7 separate regions of the Homo sapiens genome follow, and regions 2, 3, 4, 5, 6 and 7 are each linked to region 1. The links are contacts of gene promoters, found by promoter capture Hi-C in blood cells and fetal thymus (Javierre and others, 2016). All regions are on one chromosome and are shown on one strand. The core of a region is centred on a gene start or on the middle of the fragment in contact, and the rest is flanking DNA. Distances in the headings are between cores, read along the strand shown.

The links. Contacts are between HindIII fragments. The CHiCAGO score rates a contact against its expected background, and 5 or more counts as called.
Region 2: a contact is called between a fragment that was not itself captured here and the fragment with the promoter of SRP72 in region 1, in 3 of 17 cell types (fetal thymus, total CD4 T cells and non-activated CD4 T cells). The highest score is 6.8, in fetal thymus.
Region 3: a contact is called between a fragment that was not itself captured here and the fragment with the promoter of SRP72 in region 1, in 1 of 17 cell types (naive CD8 T cells). The highest score is 5.0, in naive CD8 T cells.
Region 4: a contact is called between a fragment that was not itself captured here and the fragment with the promoter of SRP72 in region 1, in 12 of 17 cell types (naive CD4 T cells, M1 macrophages, naive CD8 T cells and 9 more). The highest score is 9.4, in naive CD4 T cells.
Region 5: a fragment that was not itself captured here is called in contact with the fragment with the promoter of SRP72 in region 1 in 2 of 17 cell types (fetal thymus and erythroblasts); the score reaches 6.1 in fetal thymus.
Region 6: a contact is called between a fragment that was not itself captured here and the fragment with the promoter of SRP72 in region 1, in 3 of 17 cell types (M1 macrophages, naive CD4 T cells and M2 macrophages). The highest score is 5.4, in M1 macrophages.
Region 7: a fragment that was not itself captured here is called in contact with the fragment with the promoter of SRP72 in region 1 in 7 of 17 cell types (non-activated CD4 T cells, M2 macrophages, M1 macrophages and 4 more); the score reaches 7.7 in non-activated CD4 T cells.

The regions. Positions count from the first base shown.
Region 1 is chr4:56,466,111-56,469,028 of GRCh38, forward strand. It overlaps SRP72 (signal recognition particle 72), which reads left to right and starts at 1,507. Exons shown (of 19, transcript NM_006947.4): 1 at 1,507-1,634. The coding sequence starts at 1,526. It overlaps LOC124900706 (a long non-coding RNA gene), which reads right to left and starts at 1,448. Exons shown (of 2, transcript XR_007058126.1): 1 at 982-1,448. RefSeq lists an enhancer at 1,352-1,561. The HindIII fragment of the contact is 5,513 bases long and covers 1-2,918 here.
Region 2 is chr4:55,962,632-55,965,549 of GRCh38, forward strand. It overlaps CEP135 (centrosomal protein 135), which reads left to right. Exons shown (of 26, transcript NM_025009.5): 7 at 1,643-1,771. All of the region lies in intron 2 of LOC124900705 (a long non-coding RNA gene), which reads right to left. Among named protein-coding and RNA genes, the nearest start is that of CEP135, 15 kb to the left of the region's middle. The HindIII fragment of the contact is 609 bases long and covers 1,137-1,745 here.
Region 3 is chr4:55,979,157-55,982,074 of GRCh38, forward strand. It overlaps CEP135 (centrosomal protein 135), which reads left to right. Exons shown (of 26, transcript NM_025009.5): 12 at 987-1,139; 13 at 2,071-2,223. Among named protein-coding and RNA genes, the nearest start is that of CEP135, 32 kb to the left of the region's middle. The HindIII fragment of the contact is 1,561 bases long and covers 641-2,201 here.
Region 4 is chr4:56,930,352-56,933,269 of GRCh38, forward strand. It overlaps REST (RE1 silencing transcription factor), which reads left to right. Exons shown (of 4, transcript NM_005612.5): 4 at 1-2,918. The coding sequence ends at 1,801. Among named protein-coding and RNA genes, the nearest start is that of REST, 24 kb to the left of the region's middle. The HindIII fragment of the contact is 4,321 bases long and covers 1-2,918 here.
Region 5 is chr4:56,049,592-56,052,509 of GRCh38, forward strand. The region is part of intron 1 of CRACD (capping protein inhibiting regulator of actin dynamics); the gene reads left to right. Among named protein-coding and RNA genes, the nearest start is that of CRACD, 2.0 kb to the left of the region's middle. RefSeq lists an enhancer at 1-78. The HindIII fragment of the contact is 518 bases long and covers 1,232-1,749 here.
Region 6 is chr4:56,865,198-56,868,115 of GRCh38, forward strand. No RefSeq gene overlaps it. Among named protein-coding and RNA genes, the nearest start is that of REST, 41 kb to the right of the region's middle. The HindIII fragment of the contact is 1,416 bases long and covers 665-2,080 here.
Region 7 is chr4:56,847,374-56,850,291 of GRCh38, forward strand. No RefSeq gene overlaps it. Among named protein-coding and RNA genes, the nearest start is that of SPINK2, 27 kb to the left of the region's middle. RefSeq lists an enhancer at 1,360-1,859. The HindIII fragment of the contact is 3,045 bases long and covers 1-2,918 here.

The DNA.
Region 1 (2,918 bases), core at 257-2,756:
GGACCCCTGTTCTAAGAGGATGCAACCAGAAGGCTGCCCAGTCTGCAAGATCAAATGTTTCCTCAAAGTAACTTTCAACGTATAACCAGAAAGACTGAAAGACAAAAAGTAGTTAGCAAGGCCGGGCACGGTGGCTTACGCCTGTAATCCCTGTACTTTGGGAGGCTGAGAGAGGGCGGATCACTTGAGGTCAGGAGTTTGAGACCAGCTTGGCCAACACAGTGAAACCCCATCTCTACTAAAAATTCAAAAATTAACCGGGCGTGGTGGCTCATGCTACTTGGGAGGCTGAGGCAAAAGAATCGCTTTAACCCAGGAGGTGGAGATTGCAGTGAGGTTCATCCTGGGTCACAGAGCTAGACTACGTCTCAAAAAAAAAAAAAAAAAAAAAAAAAAAAAGCTAGGTTCCTGAGGGACACAGGAAGTAGTAGAAGTTGTAAAGGTCATGACGAGATATGAGTCTGAAGAGCAGGCCATTCAATGAAATACAACATTCACATCAAGTGAATCACTCACATCGTCTTGGTGTGGTGGCTCATGCCTGTAATCCCAGCACTTGGGGAGGCTGTGGTGGGAGGATTGCTTGAGCCCAGGAGTTCCAGACCAGCTTGGGCAACACGGCAAGATCCCCGTCTCAAAAAAAAAAAAAAATCACTCACATCAAGTGTACCCAACAGATATCCATTCCCTTCGTACATCTGAACACATCTTGATATTAACGGTCGCAAGCAAACCCTAATATTTTATATCTCTAGAACAAATATAGTATCCCCATTTCACAATCGGGAAAACAGACTCCCAGAAGCTAAGTAACTTGTTTATTGTCAGACATCTAGTGAGTCGCAGAGCCAGGGAACTGACCACGGGCATTTTCACCCCATTACCCTTCCAGCTTATTGCCGACTGCTCCCGAAGGGAGCGAAAAGGACAGGCAAAGGGTTTCACCAAACCCTTTGTAATGGGAGATTCTTGCCTTCTTACCTTTCCTCACGTTTGCTTCTCTGCCAGAATGTCTTCCCGCACTTTCCCCAGAACCCAAGTTCTCCTAATCATCTTTCAAGATCCCTTTCCCTCAACCACAGATGAGCCGTGCCTATTTCTCCTTCAAATGACTCCCTATGGCTTCTAGTTGGTAGTCTTTTATTTACCACCTCATAGTCCTTTTATTTATATCCCATAAATGATCGTCCGGCCCCGCACCGTGGGACCAGGACGCTGCCTCGACCATGGCGGTCTCCTGGAAACAGGCTGCTTTGAGCCGAAACTGGTGACCGTTTCCCAACCCCGTCCAGGAGTCCGACGCCTCTTTTCTCCAGGCCAACTTCAAGTGAGGTGTATCAACTCTATCCGCACAAATTTCTTGCCACGAGAGCAGAAGATTATGATCTCTGATGCTGCCTTAGGGCTGAAGACACTCCCAACTCGGCGACGCTTAGCAATCATCGACTTCCTCCTCCTCTTGGCTGCCTCGGAGATCCTGTTCCGGGGCAGAGGTCTCCCCGCCCCGCCCCTCGTCTCCTCCAAGATGGCGAGCGGCGGCAGCGGGGGGGTGTCAGTACCTGCGCTGTGGAGTGAAGTGAACCGGTATGGCCAGAACGGCGACTTCACGCGCGCTCTCAAGACCGTCAATAAGAGTAAGTGTCGGGGTGGGCACTGGGGCGGGCCCAGGCCGGCTGGAGGATGCGGCCTGTTTCCGGCGCGCGAGACCACCTCGCGCGGGAGGCACGGGAAGGGGAGACCCCCGAAACCCCCCCGTCTATTGTCCGCCCGGCTCGGGCCCTAGCGCCCGGAAGACGCAGGTCTCACTCCTCGGCTTCACCAGGCCAGCCTGGGGTCCCTGGTTGCTTACAGCCACGTGTACTTCTCTTTTTACCCTCCGCGGGAAGCGAGGGAAGGTTTTAAAGAGACCGCAGCTCCCGGAGTCCATTTCAAACTGTTTTCTTATTTGACTCCTTTGCTGCTTTATTTCACAAATATTCCAAAGTGCCTCCTTTTCTTCTTCGTCTTGAGCGCAGTGATCAGGACTCTATTGCTGAGGGAGCTTGTTCTCTTTGGCCGCTAAAGGGGGAGGAACCTGCTTGGGACACGTAGTTTAGAGGCTGGTGCTAACCAGGTGGAAGCTGTACGGGTTCTACGGGGCGAGAGGAAAGGGCTGGATCTGGATGTCAGGCCTGTCATTCCCATAGATGAGATCTCTTCAGTGTTATTAAGTTAGGAAATATGTGTGTGGAAGCACCAACACTTGAAATAATGTCGGAAGAAAAGTTTGGCCTGTTTTTTTGCCCTGTAAGGGATGATTTCGGTTTTTACCGCCTTTGGTGTGAGGTTTAATTCATCATATTCTTTTGTTCCTTACTACATACCTGGAATATGGCCATGCTGCTTAATGTTCTCGGTGGTGCGCAGTTCTTCTCTACTGAAGATACAGCCTGTGCATGTTAGATTTGGAAATGTAATTACCAAGGCAGGGCTTAGCTGTTCAGAGTAGCAGTAACCTAAAAGGTGTGTCAGTAACATGCAAAGCTATCTAAGTAATTTTCAACACTCTAGTACTGGGTTAACGTGAAAAGTAGTGATTGTGCCCACAGTGCACTTTTGGTGATTTCAGACATTGAGGAAAATAGCTACGAATTAGAATTATTTGATCCCTAAATTTGTTTGAATTAACTCTAGCCTTCCAACCAGTACTGTATACTTAGTATAGTATTTTGCAGGAATTCTTTAATCAGCAAAGATTGTCAACTTGTTTACCAGTATGTTTTCTTAATTGGTAGAAATTCTTGTGATTCTTTGAGAATTGGACTTCTGTAGTTGCACAGGAGCAAGAGTAACTATGATCCTGGTCATTTTAACACCGAACAGTTGTTAGCGTTGAAACTTGCCACCTGAGTTCTTCCTTATACTTTGGTCATCTTAGT
Region 2 (2,918 bases), core at 191-2,690, 500 kb before region 1:
TTCTTGACCTACTCTGTGGTATTTGATATTATTGATAATTGCTCTTTGAAACTTCTTCCATGACTTCATTTTTTTCCAGTTTTCTTTTTTTTAAGCCTCTTTTTTTTTTTTTTGCTTTTTTTCAACTGTCCACTCCCTGAAATATTACTGTTTTCTTGGATTCTGTCTTTGACCCCTTCTCGTCTTATGTATCTTTTTCAAGTGTCCTCATCTGCTCTCTTGGTTTAAAATACTGCCTGTATATTGATGACTCCTTCATCTCTCTGTGGCTCAAACTTCTCTGCTGAACTCCAGACCCATATACCCACCTTTACATTGGGCATTTCCACTTGGGTGGAGTCTTTTTGTACTCATATGCCTTGTACTGAACTTTTTCTCTTCTGGTTTCGACTCCTTTATTCTCTACTTTGGTTGGTAGCATCAATGTTTGCCCAAGTGCACATTCTGTATTCTTTCTAGATCTCTTTCTCTTGCCTTCGCATACCACTCACCAAGTTCTGTCATTTCTCCTGGCTAAGTGCTTCTTAAACTTATTTCTTCTGTTCTATCCTCTACCACTGTTTTATTTTAGTTATTAATTGTTTCTTATGCATTTCTGCATTAGGTCTCCCTGCCCCTGCCTCTGTTTTTATTCCTGTCAATTTCATCCTTTAGTCCAGCATAATCGTAATTAGTTTTGTCCTAGTTCTTCAGACATCTCCAACTACTAGATCCCATGCACATTACATCCAGTCATACCAAGCTATTTCTGCTGTCTCAAACATTCCATGTTTTTGTTGCTTTTTGGTATGTTTGGAATGTTTGGTTATTTATTTAAGAAAACCAAAGCTTGGGCCAGGAGTGGTGGCTCACGCCTATAATCCCAGCACTTTGGGAGGCCGAGGCAGGCGGATCACCTGAGGTCAGGAGTTCAAGACCAGCCTGGCCAACATGGTAAAACCCCATCTCTACTAAAAATACAAAAATTAGCCAGGCGTGGTGGCACATACCTGTAGTCCCAGCTACTCAGGAGGCTGAGGCAGGAGAATTGCTCAAACCCGGGAGGCAGAGGTTGCAGTGACCCGAGATCATGCCACTGCACTCCAGACTGGGTGACAGAGTGAAACTCCGTCTCAAAAAGAAAAAGAAAAAGCCAAAGCTTGAAAGTGTGAGCCTTTCCAAATTCTTACATAAATAACAGATAATTAAATTCACCCCAGTTTCCTATTCTTTTTAATATTGAGGTTCAGTAGCAACTTACTTTTCTTAGTGTGTTACACTCATTCATTTATTCTACCAGGAACTGAAGTAGTTGAGATTCAGTTCTAGTACTTGAGCATGTATGTAATCTGCTAGCAAGTTTCTTTTTATATAAACATTGTTAAATCTTAAAGGAGGGAAAAAAATACAAAAATTAAATTAGGAAGAATCTATGTAGTAAAAATACATATGAAAGATATAGTGACAGCATGTCTGTTGACATTTTCTATGTAATTTATTTTTGTTCTGCATTTATGCATATAATATATGGACACAAATATGAATGTTAATCTCTTGCATACATTGGTACATAAGAAAATATATCCAAATAAATGTTTGTACAGTGTTAATCATTTGGTTGAAAACCAGATTTTTTAAAATGACAGCATGACTATATCTTCAGATTGAGCTAAGAGAACGAGAGATAGAACGACTGTCAGTTGCTTTGGATGGTGGTCGGTCCCCTGATGTCCTTTCTCTGGAGTCTAGAAATAAAACCAATGAAAAGCTTATTGCTCATTTAAATATTCAGGTAATGGCTTTTATAATTATTTCACTGAGTGTATATAATGGTGTTTATAATAAACACTATATGTTTATAATGGTCTATGGGTTTGTAAAAGTGGCAGGAGTTGTTCACTGAGGTATTATTTGCAATGGGAAAAATTTGATAGAACCATAGTATCCAGAAATAGGGTGGAGTTATTGAAAAATCATGTTTTCAAAGACTAATGAGGCAGTAATTAACATGCACCATAACATTAACAATTTAAAGGAAGAGAATAAACTCTGGGCACATGATTGCCAATTTGCTTTTAAGAAAATGTATATATGGACTTGGAAAGAGAAAACGAAGAGAATATACCAAAGTATACTAACAAAGCTTATCTTTCTGTGGTGGGATATTCTCCTTTATGGTTTTCTCTTTTTCTTTTTTAAAATTTTTATGAGTATATATTTATTTTATAATGTAAAAATTTAAAAATATATATAAAAATTAAATACCTAGCTTTTATCTACTTACGTAGTGGATTCCTTTGCCATGCATTTGACCTAAGGCTGAAAGAGCAGGAGAGTTCCATGCAGTATGACACAGGAACTTTAGAAATTTTGGTATGACAGAGTTGCCTGGGCTACAAACAGAATATAGTAAGTAAAAAATATCAACAGTAGCTCTAGAGGAGTGCTGTCCCATAGAAATATGATATGAGCCATATATGTAATTTAAATTTTTCTAGTAGCAGCTTGATTTAAAAAAATAAAAAGAGGTGAAATTAATTGTAACAATATATTTACCCCAGTATGTCCAAAATATTATAATTTCAACCAGTAATGTTTTTACATACCTATTTTTTTGTTTGTATTATCTTTGAAATCCTGTGTATATTTTACAGTTATAGCACATCTCAGTTTACACTAGCCACATTTCAGATGCTCAGTAGCCACATGTGGTTGCTAGAGGCTACTATATTGAACAACACAGTCTATTATCATCTTGATATTCTTGTTGTATAGAACTCTGTATTGGGAAAAAGTTCACACAAATTTCTTGTCCTTTCTATGCTTGAAAATCAAAGTCAATGGATATGTACTTTCATTACACTGCACATGGTCAGTTTTGTAAATAACAATATAAATTTGCAAATATAAAATAGCTGTAGTTTTAATCTTCAATAATT
Region 3 (2,918 bases), core at 171-2,670, 490 kb before region 1:
ATTATCCCTTCTTGGCACTTCTGCATTTAGTGCTTGTAACATTAAGATACCATAGATCCCAAGTCTACATTTGTTATTTTTCTTTTTTTTTAATAGGAAAAAGGCATACAAATTTATTTACATGTGCATGGGGAGAATCAGAGTGCTCTCATCTTTATTTTCTACCATAGTGATGAAGACAGTGAATCTTTTGAATTGTACTAAATTGTAGGCATCTTTTAAATTGCACTAAATTGTAGAAATGTTGGAAGTAGTTGCTTATTCAGTGAATATTCTTAATATATACTGCCTGGTAGAAATATTTGCATTTATTTGACTGTATAAAAAGACCTCCTGTAGGTCTGAAGCTGAGACAGTTGGGGGTTGGTATGCCTGGCGTATTGATCTTAGATTCAATCATAGAAAACACTGAGAAATGTGCTAGGCTGTTACAGTTACCTGTACTGGGCGAGCAGGCACACAAGTACCCTGCTGGCCCCTTCTCTGGAGAAGATAAACTAACTAGTGGCTCTAAAAAATTACCAGGCATCAGAATCACTTAGAGGGCTTGATAAAATACAGTTACTTGGCCCTACCCGGAAGTTTCTTGACTGAGTAGGTCTGGGTTGGGCTTCAAACTCCAAAATTTGCATGTCTGACAAGCTTTTAGATACTGCTAATGCTTCTGGTCTGGGGATTATACTTCAAGTACCACGAGTATGAACAACTTTGGGAGAATAAAAGTTGAAACATCTCATGGGATCTGATCAAGTCACATCATTGGCAGCTAAGTCTCTTCTGGGAACTTGAAGGCCAGGAAATTTGCCCTGGTACTGCCAGTGCTCTCATCTGCTCTCATCATAGATTTTTAAAACTGTGTTCCTTAATTACGTTAAAGGCACTTGTGTTCTTTTTGTCTGGTAGCATCTTTCAGTCAATCTCATCATCAGTATCCTTGTGACAACCATGTGGTGATGATTATATTTTGTTTTTTAATTATGTTTCAGGGTGATTACAATTCAGAAATTCATCAGATCACAAGAGAAAGAGATGAACTTCAGCGTATGCTAGAAAGATTTGAAAAATATATGGAAGATATACAGTCCAATGTTAAATTATTGACAGCAGAAAGAGATAAACTAAGTGTCTTATATAATGAAGTAAGAAATGTATTATAATTAAGCCAATAGATTGTATAGAACCAGTTAACTATAATGGAGCCTGTATATATCTTTCACATTACTATAATATATGGACCTGTGATATTTCTTCATAATTAAAATTATCAGTAGTAGTTTCTACTATCATTCTGTTTCTAAAACACAAATTTCTCTTATTTTTTCATATTTATTCTTTCCCTTTTCTAGCCTATCTATGTGTCAGATCAGTTAGAGATAGTCTTCTTTTTCTAAAACTACCTGAAGCAGGTCTCAGCCTGACTCTGAGCCAAATTTATGCTTGGAATTCAGACGTAGGGAAATGTCTATCAAAACAGTGGGTAGCACCCACTATTTGGATATATTGGCTATTTAGGACTTAGTCTCTAAATACTGTACTCTAGGAAGAGGGAATTGGTATTCAGCTTGGCCCCATTAACAAATCCTCAGTTGTTAGAGGGCAAGGTAAGTCTGAGCAAAGCATGGTGTCTGTCACCTAAATTTGTTCACATACCCATCTCCCATGAAATCCTACTGCTATTTTGAGAAGGGGAAGAGGCATGCAAGTTAAAGGTCACGTTGAAAGAGTCACTTAATGAGTTTTTTGGGGGGAATTCTGCAGTGTAAATTGATCCACTTCTGGGCTTTCCCCATTGCTAGCTTAGATTTCAGCTTTCTTGGGTCTGCCTAGTTACTTCCTGCTTGTCTGTCTGCTGTCTAGTTTCCAACATTTTGTGGCTGGTGCCTCCCTCAATCCCCTTGTCTTTTTTGTTTTATTATTCTTACTATTTTAATCTTTTGTTGGGATTTGCGAAGAGAGTGACGGTAGCATGTGTTCAGTATGCCTTTTTTAACTGGAAACATATCCAAAGTATTTTTTATTTATATCTTTTACTAAAGTGCCTTTTTAATTTATATCTTTTCATTCTTTAAGGCTCAGGAAGAATTATCTGCCCTAAGAAAGGAATCCACCCAAACCACAGCACCCCATAATATTGTTAGTCTTATGGAAAAGGAAAAAGAACTTGCGTTATCTGACTTAAGAAGAATTATGGCAGAAAAGGAAGCTTTAAGAGAAAAATTAGAGGTAAGAAGATTGACATGTTTTTGAAAGGTAATTTGTTGAGAAAAAGAGGTCTTTGTATATACATTTTCCTGTGAAGTTACTATTGGCCAAATCCAGACCACTTTGTTTATGTATGGCCTGTGAGCTAAGAATGGATTAAGAAGAATATTTCATTGTTGATAAAATGTTATTGGATTACCTTGCTTATTTGTTTATGTATTATCTTTAGCTTCTTTTGTAGTATGACCTACAAAACCTAAAATATTTACTGTTTTTTTACAGAAAAAGTTTGCCAATCCCTGAACTTAAGCAGAAGTTTCTCATATGGGAAGACAGTATCTTTGTTTGTTTGTTTGTTTTTGTAACAGCTTTACAGAGATATTCACATACCATACAATTCACCCACTTAAAGTATACCATTTCATTGGTTTTAGCATAGATGCTCTTTGACTTACAATGGGATTACATTCCAATAAACCCATCATAAGTAAAAAATGTAAGTCGGAAAAAATGCATTTAATACCCCAGTAAACCCATTGTAAAGTCTTATATTGAAAAATCTTAAGCCATTGTTGAGTCCACAGGCTCCTCAACTTATACTGGGGTTACCTCCTGATAAACCCATAACAAAGTCAAAAATGTAAACCAGGGACTATCTGTATATTCATAGGCTTGTTCAACCATCACACAGTCAATTTTAGAGCATTTTCATCACC
Region 4 (2,918 bases), core at 189-2,688, 460 kb after region 1:
GGTGAAAGAGATGGATGTGCATACAGGAAGCAATTCAGAAAAATTCAGTAAAACTAAGAAAAGCAAAAGGAAGCTGGAAGTTGACAGCCATTCTTTACATGGTCCTGTGAATGATGAGGAATCTTCAACAAAAAAGAAAAAGAAGGTAGAAAGCAAATCCAAAAATAATAGTCAGGAAGTGCCAAAGGGTGACAGCAAAGTGGAGGAGAATAAAAAGCAAAATACTTGCATGAAAAAAAGTACAAAGAAGAAAACTCTGAAAAATAAATCAAGTAAGAAAAGCAGTAAGCCTCCTCAGAAGGAACCTGTTGAGAAGGGATCTGCTCAGATGGACCCTCCTCAGATGGGGCCTGCTCCCACAGAGGCGGTTCAGAAGGGGCCCGTTCAGGTGGAGCCGCCACCTCCCATGGAGCATGCTCAGATGGAGGGTGCCCAGATACGGCCTGCTCCTGACGAGCCTGTTCAGATGGAGGTGGTTCAGGAGGGGCCTGCTCAGAAGGAGCTGCTGCCTCCCGTGGAGCCTGCTCAGATGGTGGGTGCCCAAATTGTACTTGCTCACATGGAGCTGCCTCCTCCCATGGAGACTGCTCAGACGGAGGTTGCCCAAATGGGGCCTGCTCCCATGGAACCTGCTCAGATGGAGGTTGCCCAGGTAGAATCTGCTCCCATGCAGGTGGTCCAGAAGGAGCCTGTTCAGATGGAGCTGTCTCCTCCCATGGAGGTGGTCCAGAAGGAGCCTGTTCAGATAGAGCTGTCTCCTCCCATGGAGGTGGTCCAGAAGGAACCTGTTAAGATAGAGCTGTCTCCTCCCATAGAGGTGGTCCAGAAGGAGCCTGTTCAGATGGAGTTGTCTCCTCCCATGGGGGTGGTTCAGAAGGAGCCTGCTCAGAGGGAGCCACCTCCTCCCAGAGAGCCTCCCCTTCACATGGAGCCAATTTCCAAAAAGCCTCCTCTCCGAAAAGATAAAAAGGAAAAGTCTAACATGCAGAGTGAAAGGGCACGGAAGGAGCAAGTCCTTATTGAAGTTGGCTTAGTGCCTGTTAAAGATAGCTGGCTTCTAAAGGAAAGTGTAAGCACAGAGGATCTCTCACCACCATCACCACCACTGCCAAAGGAAAATTTAAGAGAAGAGGCATCAGGAGACCAAAAATTACTCAACACAGGTGAAGGAAATAAAGAAGCCCCTCTTCAGAAAGTAGGAGCAGAAGAGGCAGATGAGAGCCTACCTGGTCTTGCTGCTAATATCAACGAATCTACCCATATTTCATCCTCTGGACAAAACTTGAATACGCCAGAGGGTGAAACTTTAAATGGTAAACATCAGACTGACAGTATAGTTTGTGAAATGAAAATGGACACTGATCAGAACACAAGAGAGAATCTCACTGGTATAAATTCAACAGTTGAAGAACCAGTTTCACCAATGCTTCCCCCTTCAGCAGTAGAAGAACGTGAAGCAGTGTCCAAAACTGCACTGGCATCACCTCCTGCTACAATGGCAGCAAATGAGTCTCAGGAAATTGATGAAGATGAAGGCATCCACAGCCATGAAGGAAGTGACCTAAGTGACAACATGTCAGAGGGTAGTGATGATTCTGGATTGCATGGGGCTCGGCCAGTTCCACAAGAATCTAGCAGAAAAAATGCAAAGGAAGCCTTGGCAGTCAAAGCGGCTAAGGGAGATTTTGTTTGTATCTTCTGTGATCGTTCTTTCAGAAAGGGAAAAGATTACAGCAAACACCTCAATCGCCATTTGGTTAATGTGTACTATCTTGAAGAAGCAGCTCAAGGGCAGGAGTAATGAAACTTTGAACAAGGTTTCAGTTCTTAGTTTGTAAGGTATATTACATTTTATATTCATTTATGATAGCAGACAACCTTTTAAGATTGCTTTAATTAGTATCTGATGTTGATTTTTAAGTGGCATTCTTTTCCTTAGGACTTTTTATGTATACCTGTTGATTGTTGTGTAAATTTTAGTAAATCTAAGAGAGTGTACTAAACCAGCAGGTATCTGTTAGCTTATGTGTTTAATTGAAATTAGAAGGCTAAGATGGTATAACAGCATTTTATTGCTTTGTCCAGCTACAACTTGTCATTTTTTTCTCCATGTCTTATCTTCCTGTTTCACTTTAGTTTATTCTTCGTTTTTTATTGAGATCTATAAAAAATTGGCTTACTTAATAGCAAATTACTTGAAGAATTTGCCTGCTTTATATAAAGTTAGCACTTTAAGATTTTTTTTTTTAGAGATGAGAAGACATTTAAATTGAAGAAAAATTCCCCCAGCAATAGACAGTCTATCAGTCCAAGTATTTACTTCCTGAGTTTTGATCAATATTTTTTATTTGTGTATGTTAATCGTCATAAAAACAGTGATTTTGGTGTGTTTTTTATTTTGGTGCTTTAATGGCTTAAGATGTTGCACATTTTTTTTTTCTTTTGGTTTCTGTTTATGTTTTTTTGCCTATGCAGTTAAATTTTTCCTAGAAATAGCATTTGTGTTGAACAGTAACACTTTATACATATATATATGCATGTTTATTTTGTTTGGCGTCTTTGGAGGGATGCTTTTAGACTTGTTTGCAAAAGGGCAGTTTTCTTTTTCTTTGCTGCAGTTGTCTATTTTGCAGAATAATAGTGTGTGCAAGTTTGTGAGCAAATGAAATATGCAGGTTCAATCTATTGATTTTGATTTTTACATCTTATATCTATGCCAGAATCTGTATTTCATATAACTTATTTATTTCGAATGGATGTAGTAAATTCACAGCTATCAGTTTTGATTTTGCAATAAATAAACCACTAGGTTGCATGTCGAACAAATTTTTATCTCAAATACCAACCATCAGTTTTTTTTTTCATGTGTTTTGGTACAGCTAATTCCTAATTGTAGAGTGTTAAATGTTTGAGGAGAA
Region 5 (2,918 bases), core at 241-2,740, 420 kb before region 1:
CGCCTGCCTTCTCCTCTTCCCGCGCCTCGCCATCCTGTCCCCAGGTCCCTGGCTCGGTCCCGACCGCGGCAAGGGCCAGAACCAGACCTCACCGTCCGGGATCGCGGACGCCGTCCGGGCTCAGCCCTCTCCCCACCGCCCCCGGAGCTGCATTGCTTTGTTTAACCTCTGCCAGACCGTTTCGCACAAACTCTTGTTGCCCCAATTCTGATGAGCCACCAGTTTGATAGCTGAGGCAAGACAAAGGTTTCCCCTGTTTACCAAGGGCCGGGGCCAGGAGACTGCGCGCTGCCCGTGGTGTAAAATCTGTTTTCTTTATCTTCGCCCGGGGCTTGTTGCGATGGTTTTCCTGGCACTATAACCGTCCTTTCTTGCAGAGCTCTGTAGTGGCGAGATTGGACCTCCTAACCCTACGGATACGGTGGGTGGGGTATGGCTTTTTTTTTTTCATGATTATCAGTAAACAGAAGCCGACTTTGAATTTTATAATATGTGTTCTTGAGTTAGAGACATCGTAATCATTTTCTGAATTCTGAATTTTAAGAGAATATATATTTCAAGACACATTGATTCAGTGGAGGGGGAGGGGGAAGAAAACCTAGTAAGTACGACCATGTGTTGTGAAATTTTAATATGGTTTTAGGAATAATGGCTGGGAAACTGATCTGGTGTAGGTGAGGGAGTGTGTGTGTGTGTGTGTGTGTGTGTGTGTGTGTGTGTGTGTATTGGGGGTGGTAAGTGGTGGTGGTGGAGAGGGAGTGGTTAGAATACAAAGGATAAGGCAGTTTTAGAAAAAGATTCTTAGTAAATATCCTGTGGCAAATTTTTGATTCATTAAGTTGTGAGTTAAATCAATGTTTCCTTTAAAAATCACCTATAGTAATTGTGGAATTATATAAAAAATGGCTCACAGTTCTTTGGCATTGTTTGTGACTCAGGAATCTGAATAAAACAGTCAGTTTTGAGTAATTTTTAAAAAGTCAACAAAGAGAAGACTCCTTCACTACTGTCTCCTTTATCCTTTGGGAAAAGGGAATCCTTGTTCAGTATATTCAAGAGAAAATTGCCTATATGAAAAAAAATTTCAAAGGCAGCTTTGAAAAAGAAACATTTTGAAAAATATAATATGGTTGCATTACAGATCACTTCAACTCAGAAGTGGGCAGGGAAAAAATCATGTTACTGGATCGCCCTTTCCACTGTTGATTATTTAAAATGCATTGTATTCAAAAGCTTAATTTTACAGTCATCTCTAACACATTGAGAAACTTTCACTCTAAAGACTTAGCAGTACTTACCGACCACTGAATTTGGAGGAGGAAGCTAACACCAACTTGACAATAGGCAATTGGTGTGAGAAACAAAAGCTAGCTCTTGGTAATAGTTCATAGTTCTTCATAAACTACAAAGCACTATAATAAATGTAAGTTATTATTATCGCTAGATGAGGAAGCTGTGTTTTACAGTTTTTCTCTTACCCAATTTCAGACCAATTAATTGGCATTAATTTGAAATTCTCCAGGGAAAGGGACAATCTTTTAGTCTTTTTTTGTGGTCTGTATTTCTGATCTGGCACACAGTAGGTGTTCAGTATGTAGTCATGGAAAGAAAGAATGAATAGGTGAAAAAAATACAAGTGGATAAAACGTGTACAGATGGAATTTGTTTACTTTTTATTCAACGAACATTTACTGAAGGCCTACTGTGTGCCAACAACTGTGTAGAGGTTTTCCACATACAGTTGATGAAAGCTTGGTGACCTCCTTTTTCAGTCATAGTTGATGTGTGTTTCTTCCAAGAATGGGGTCTCTTGGGTGGTTTTTTTCATCATTTTAAATCATCTCCTGTAACTGAGTGGCACAATAGAACATTTCACTTGTTGTATGTGCATATAGTTTCTCACAATGGCCTGTGGGGAGGCAGGGCAGATATTATCATTCCCGTTTTGTAGGTGAGGAAATCCAGACATGGCGAGATTAAATGACTTGCCAGCTCCTTGCCACTAAAGCAACAATGCCAGGGACAGAAGCTGGATCTCACGCCCAGAGCTTTCTCCCCTGAATCACACAACCTTCTCCAAGATACACTGTACCCCCAGAAAATCACGCTGGAATTAGACCCCATGAAAAAGTCTACCTTTTGGATAACTTTTACATAAAGAAAAGGTATATTTTACAACCTAGTACTTAGGGGAGTGGTTAAATACACAAGTTCTCGAGGCAGGTGATTGAATTTGAGCATTGGCTTTACTGGCTACTAGCTCTGCATCCTTGGCAGGTGATTTAATCTAAGCCTCAGTTTCCTCATCTGTAAAATGGGGGAAGTAATCCTATTTAGAACATTTTTGTGAGGATCAAATAAAATAATGTGGGCATAGCACAATGTTTAGTACAAACTAAGCACTCAGTGTCAGCTAATTTTTATTTTCATTATTTTAATGTAAAGCAATGGCTTTTAAACTTTTTAATTTTTTATTTTATTTTTATTTTTTTAAAGAGGTGAGGTCTCACTGTGTTGCCCAGGCTGGTCTCAAGCAATCCTCCTGCCTTGGCCTCCCAAAATACTAGGATTACAGGCATGAACCACTGCGCCCAGCCTAAACTTTTATTTTTGCACAGTAAGAGATGCATTTTACTTTGCCACCCAGTATACAGATACATTGTAAATATCTGTAATTAAAAAATTCATGAAGTAATGCTTAGACTTTGAATGTGCAATGCATTCTTATATTTTTTATTCTATTTTATTTAAAAAATGTTGGTTGAGATCGCTAAATGATTTCACATCCCATTAATGGGTCAGGAACTACGCTTTGAAAAGCACTAATGCTAAGGATAATCAGGTTAAGTGCATTTAAGAAAGCTGTTGTTGAATCTTTATTTCTTTTCTTCAAATGGTTTACAACATCAATTGGAGTT
Region 6 (2,918 bases), core at 123-2,622, 400 kb after region 1:
GTGGTAAGTGCACTGACAGAGATGTTAGAGACCCACACCTAGGAGAGGGAAGTGTGAGGTAGCAACATGTTTGTCAATAATCTATTAGCCCCCCCTTTTTTTTTGAGACAAAGTCTTGCTCTGTCACCCAGGCTGGAGTGCAGTGGCATGATTTCAGCTCACTGCAACCTCCGTCGCCCAGATTCAAGTGATTCTTGTGCCTCAGCCTCCCGAGTAGCTGGGATTACAGGTGCGTGCCACCACGCTGGGCTAATTTTTGTATTTTTAGTAGAGACGAAGTTTTGCCATGTTGGCCAGGCTGGTCTTGAACTCCCAACCTCAGGTGATCTACCCTCCTCAGTCTCCCACAGCGCTGGGATTGTACAGACTTGAGCCACTGTGTTCGGCCTTTTAACTCCTTTTCTGTAGTGCGGGTACATAATTGCTTCTTCCTTTTTATTTCCTCTGCACCTTTGTATTTCTTTAGCATTTATTTCATTCTATTTTACCTTAATGGTTTTCTTGAGGAACGACTTCATGGGTATGTGTATTAGTCAGTTGTAGCATTACTAGGAAGGAATGCCTGAGACTGCGTAATTTAAGAAAAGAGGTTTAATTGGCTCACGGTTCTGCAGGCTTTACAGGAAGCATGGTGCTGACATCAGCTTCTGGCAAGGCCTCAAGAAGCTTCCAATCATGGTGCAAGGTGATGGGGAGCCAGCATGTCACATGGCCAGAGTGGGAGCAAAAAAGAGGGTGAGGCAGGTCCCACACTCCTCAACAACAAGATCACACGTGAACTCACTGAAGGAGAACTCACTCATCATCAAGAGAATAGTGTTAAGTCATTCATGAGGGATCCACCCAGTGATCCAGTCACCTCCCACCAGGCCCCACCTCCAACATTGGAAATCACATTTCAACATGAGATTTGGAGGCAACAAATATCCAAACCACATCAGTATGCAACATGTATAGCCACATGGGGCCCCACAGTTAGAAGCACCCTGTGCTAGATATAATGTTCTGCTGTCACTGTCTTGAAATTCTCCTTTAAAAAAAATTTAACAAGGGGCTCACATTTTCATTTTATATTGGCCTTGGCTTTCAGATTTATCTGTCCCAGAATTACAAAGGCAGAGACCCAGGGCTAAGAACCTGTCATGGACACCTTTGGATTCCTCATGGCACCTTGAGAATGCCCACAGTACATGTTTTTAACATGAAGGAGCTGGGTGCCATGGCTCACACCTGTAATCCCAGCACTTTGGGAGGCCAAGGCAGGCAGATCACCTGAGGTCAGCAGTTTGAGACCAGCCTGGCCAAGATAGTGAAACCCGATCTCTACTAAAAATACAAAAATTAGCCGGGCATGGTGGTGGGAGCCTATAGTCCCAACCTAGGAGGCTGAGGCAGGAGAATCATTTGAACCTGGGAGGCAGAGGTTACAGTGAGCTGAGATCACACCACGCTACTCCAGCCTGGGCAACAGTGAGACTCCACCCCAGAAACAAACCAAACCAACAACAACAACAAAACATGAAGGGAAAACTCCTTATCTCTGAAGGGCTTTTTTTCTTATTGTTTGTTTTTGTTTTCCGAAGCCATATACAGATCTCTTTAGTGATGATCGACAAACACGGAAGCCTCCAGAATTTTTTTTTTTTTTTTTTGATATGGAGTCTCGCTCTGTCGTCCAGGCTGGAATGCGGTGGCGCGATCTCAGCTCACTGCAACCTCCCCCTCCCAAGTTCAAGCAATTCTTCTGTCTCAGCCTCCTGAGGATTACACCACCACGCCCCGCTAATTTTTGTATTTTTAGTAGAGATGGGGTTTCACCATGTTGGCCAGGCTGGTCTCGAACTCCTGATCTCATGATCCGCCCGCCTCTGCCTCCCAAAGTGCTGGGATTAAAGGCATGAATTACCATGCCCAGCCCTTCAGAATTATTATGTTGGAGTCCCATTTTCCCTCTGATCTTTGCATGTTACTTTGAGCTTTACTTATTCCAAGCAAGAAACAAAGGAAGAATATTGTTTTCTGTTTCTCGTTTAGAGAGATCTATAAACATTCTCAAGAAGCAACAATTTCGGCCACTTGAAGCTTGTGAGCTCAATGTATCAACAATAGCTGTACTCAAAGAAGAATTGTGAGCCATGCACAAAGAAGTGTATATTTTCAGGCAAGCAGTAGGAGCTAGTGAATATATGATGGAGCATAAAACTATGATATTTTACATTTTTTGTCTGTCCAATTTTAGTCGCTGATTCTTCTGGATACTTTCAGGTGTTCAAAGTTCCTTGAATTTCAGTCATGGTAAGATTTACCATGACTTCTTGAAAAGAACATAAAAGATTTCAGATTGTTCTGGTTAACTTTATTAGAATGCCTTATTTTATTTTATTTTTGGAGACAGGGTCTCACTCTGTCACACAGGCTAGAATGCAGTGGCACAATCATAGCTCTTTGCAGGCTTGAATTTCTGGTCTCAAGGGATTCTCCCACCTCAATCTCCCAAGTAGCTAGGACTACAGGAATGTGCCACCACGCCCAGCTAATTAAAAAAAAATTTTATAGAGATGGGGACTCACTATGTTGCCGAGGCTGGTCGCCAATTCCAGGGCTCAAGCAATCCTCCCACCGCAGCCTCACAAAGTGGTGGGATTATAGGTGTGAGCCACCATGCCCAGCAGAATAGCTTATTTTCAGTCAAATTCTCAACATTTCCAAATTTATATTTGGAGGTAGTTCAGGCCTTTCTTTAAGTTATGCCCCCAAAATGTTAAAGAAATTTTCCCCAAAATGTTTACATTACTTCCTAAAGTGTTATAAATTGTTACGAATGTATCTTTTAGGCCGGGTACAGTGGCTCACACCTGTAATCCCAGCACTTTGGGAGGCAAAGGCTGGCAGATCACTTGAGTTTGGGAGTTCGAGAC
Region 7 (2,918 bases), core at 233-2,732, 380 kb after region 1:
GGCTGTTAGCCCAAGTCACCAATTCCTTGCCATGTGGCACCTCCACAGGGCTTCTGACAACATGTCAGCTGGCTTCCCCCAGAATGAAGGCAGAGAGAATGAGAGAATACAAGATGAAAATCACATATTCTTTTTGCATGCTAATCTTGGAAGTGCCATCCCATTACTCATGCCCTATTCTATTTGTTAGAAGCAAGTCACCTTGTTCAGCTGACACTTAAAGGAAGGGGAGGGAGTACACAAGGGCATGAATACCAGGAGGGTGAAATGTTGGGAGCTATCTTAGAGGCTCCTATGGCAACTCTCAAAAAGGAAGGGAAGGAGAAGCTGGGGAGAAAGAGAGAGAAATGTAAATACCGGCCAGGTGCAGTGGCTCACGCCTGTAATCCCAGCACTTTGGGAGGCTAAGGTAGGTGGATCACTTGAGGTCAGGAGTTTGAGACCAGCCTGGCCAATCTGGTGAAACCCTGTCTCTACTAAAAATAGAAAAAAAAAAATTAGCCAGGCCTGGTGGCAGGTGCCTGTAATCCCAGCTTTTTGGGAGTCTGAGGCAAGAGAATCTCTTGAACCTGGGAGGCAGAGGTTGCAGTGGGCCGAGATCACGCCATTGCACTCCAGCCTGGGTGACAGAGTGAGACTCCATCTCAAAAATAAAAATAAAAAAAAGAAAAGAAATGTAAATGCCTTCTCAATGCCATATTTAGGAAGAGCTTAGAGAAGGGCAGAAAGAAGGAATTAAGTAGGAGGCAAGGGCAGCCTGAAGGACTGGTGAAATGGCTTGATCTTCCATGTTTTTTCTTTTATTTTTCCATATGTTAGGCAGATATTTTTTCCACATGGAAAAAATTATTATAACTAAAGACTAAGAGAAATAATACAGTGAAAGTTCAGGAATCTACCATGCAGTAAAAAATTTAATAAATTCTCAATATGAAAAACATGCAAATAAGGCTGGGTGCGGTGGCTTATCCTTTTAATACCAGCACTTTGGGAGGCCAAGGCTCAAGGATCACTTGAGGTCAGGAGATCAAGAACAGCCTGGACAACATGGCAAAACCCCACCTCTACTAAAAATACAGAATTAGTGGGACATGGTGGTGCATGCCTGTAATCCCAGCTGCTTGGGAGGCTGAGGCAGGAGAATCACTTGAAACCAGGAGGCGGAGATTGGCGGTGAGCCGAGATCATGTCACTGCACTCCAGCCTGGCAACAGAGTGAGACTCCATCTCAAAAAAAGAAAGGGCCAGGAGCGGTGGTTCATACCTGCAATCCCAGCACTTTGAGAGGCCGAGCTGGGCGGATCACGAGGTCAGGAGATAGAGACCATCCTGACCAACATGGTGAAACCCCGTCTCTACTAAAAATACAAAAATTAGTTGGGTGTGATGGTGCACACCTGTAGTCCCAGCTACTCAGGAGGCTGAGGCAGGAGAATCGCTTGAAGCCAGGAGGCGGAGGTTGCAGTGAGCCAAGATCACACCGCTGCACTCCAGCCTGGTGACAGAGCAAGACCCCGTCTCAAAAAAAAAAAAAAAGAGAAAGAAAGAAAGAGGCCGGGCGTGGTGGCTCACGCCTGTAATCCCAGCACTTTGGGAGACAGAGGCGGGTGGATCAGGAGGTCAGGAGATCAAAACCATCCTGGCTAACATGGTGAAACCCCGACTCTACTAAAAATACAAAAAAAATAGCCGGGTGTGGTGGCAGGCACCTGTAGTCCCAGCTACTCGGGAGGCTGAGGCAGGAGAATGGCATGAACCTGGGAGGTGGAGCTTGCAGTGAGCCGAGATCACGCCACCGCACTCGAGCTTGGGCGACAGAGCGAGACTCCGTCTCAAAAAAAAGAAAGAAAGAAAGAAAGAAAAACATGCAAATATAATTTTAAGATGGATAAAATTGAAGGAGTCCAGCTAACAGTTGCCAGGAGAAACAATATCAGTGGAACAGATGGAAATTATCAATGACGTTATGCAGCAGGTAGCAAAGAAATTATCAATGATATTATGCAGCAGGTAGCAAAGAAAAGTTAACCTCTGGAGGCTGGGTACGGTGGCTCATGCCTGTAATCCCAGCACTTTGGGAGGGCGAGTTGGGTAGAACACTTGAAGCCAGGAAAAAAATTAGCTGGGTATGGTGGCACATGCCTGTAATTGCAGCTACTCAGCAGCCTGTAATTGCAGCTACTCAGGAGGCTGAGGCACGAGAATCACTTGAATCCAGGAGGCAGAGGTTGCAGTGAGATCACACCACTGCACTCCAGCCTGGGCAAGAGACCACGACTCTGTCTCAAAAAAAAAAAAAAAAAGTTAACCTCTGGAAAAAATGAAGCCTATAAGGAAATGATATAAACCATGGGGAAAAAACATTTTTTTTAAATTTCAGTAGTTTTTGAGGTACAGGCAGTTTTTGGTTCCATGGATAAGCTCTTTAGTGATGATTTCTGAGATTTTGGTGCCCTTGTCACCCGAGCAGTGTACCCTGTACCCAATGTGTAGTCTTTTATTCCTCACCACCCCACCCTTCCCTCTGAGTCCCCAAAGTCCATTATATAATTCTTATGCCTTTGTATCTTCATAGTTTAGCTCCCACTTATCAATGAGAATCTATGGTATTTGGTTTTCCATTCCTGAGTTACTTCACTTAGAATAATGACCTCCAGCTCCATCCAACTTGCTTCAAAGGCCATTATTTCATTTTGTTTTATGGCTGAGTAGTATTCCATGGTATTTATATATACCACATTTTCTTTATCCACTCGTTGGTTGATGGGCATTTAGGTTGGTTCCATAGTTTTGCAATTATGAATTGCGCTGCTATAAAGACACTTGTGTGTGCAAGTGTCTTTTTCATGTAATGGCTTCTTTTCTTCTGGGTAGATACCCAGCAGTGGGATTGCTGTCGAATGGTAGTTCTACTTTTA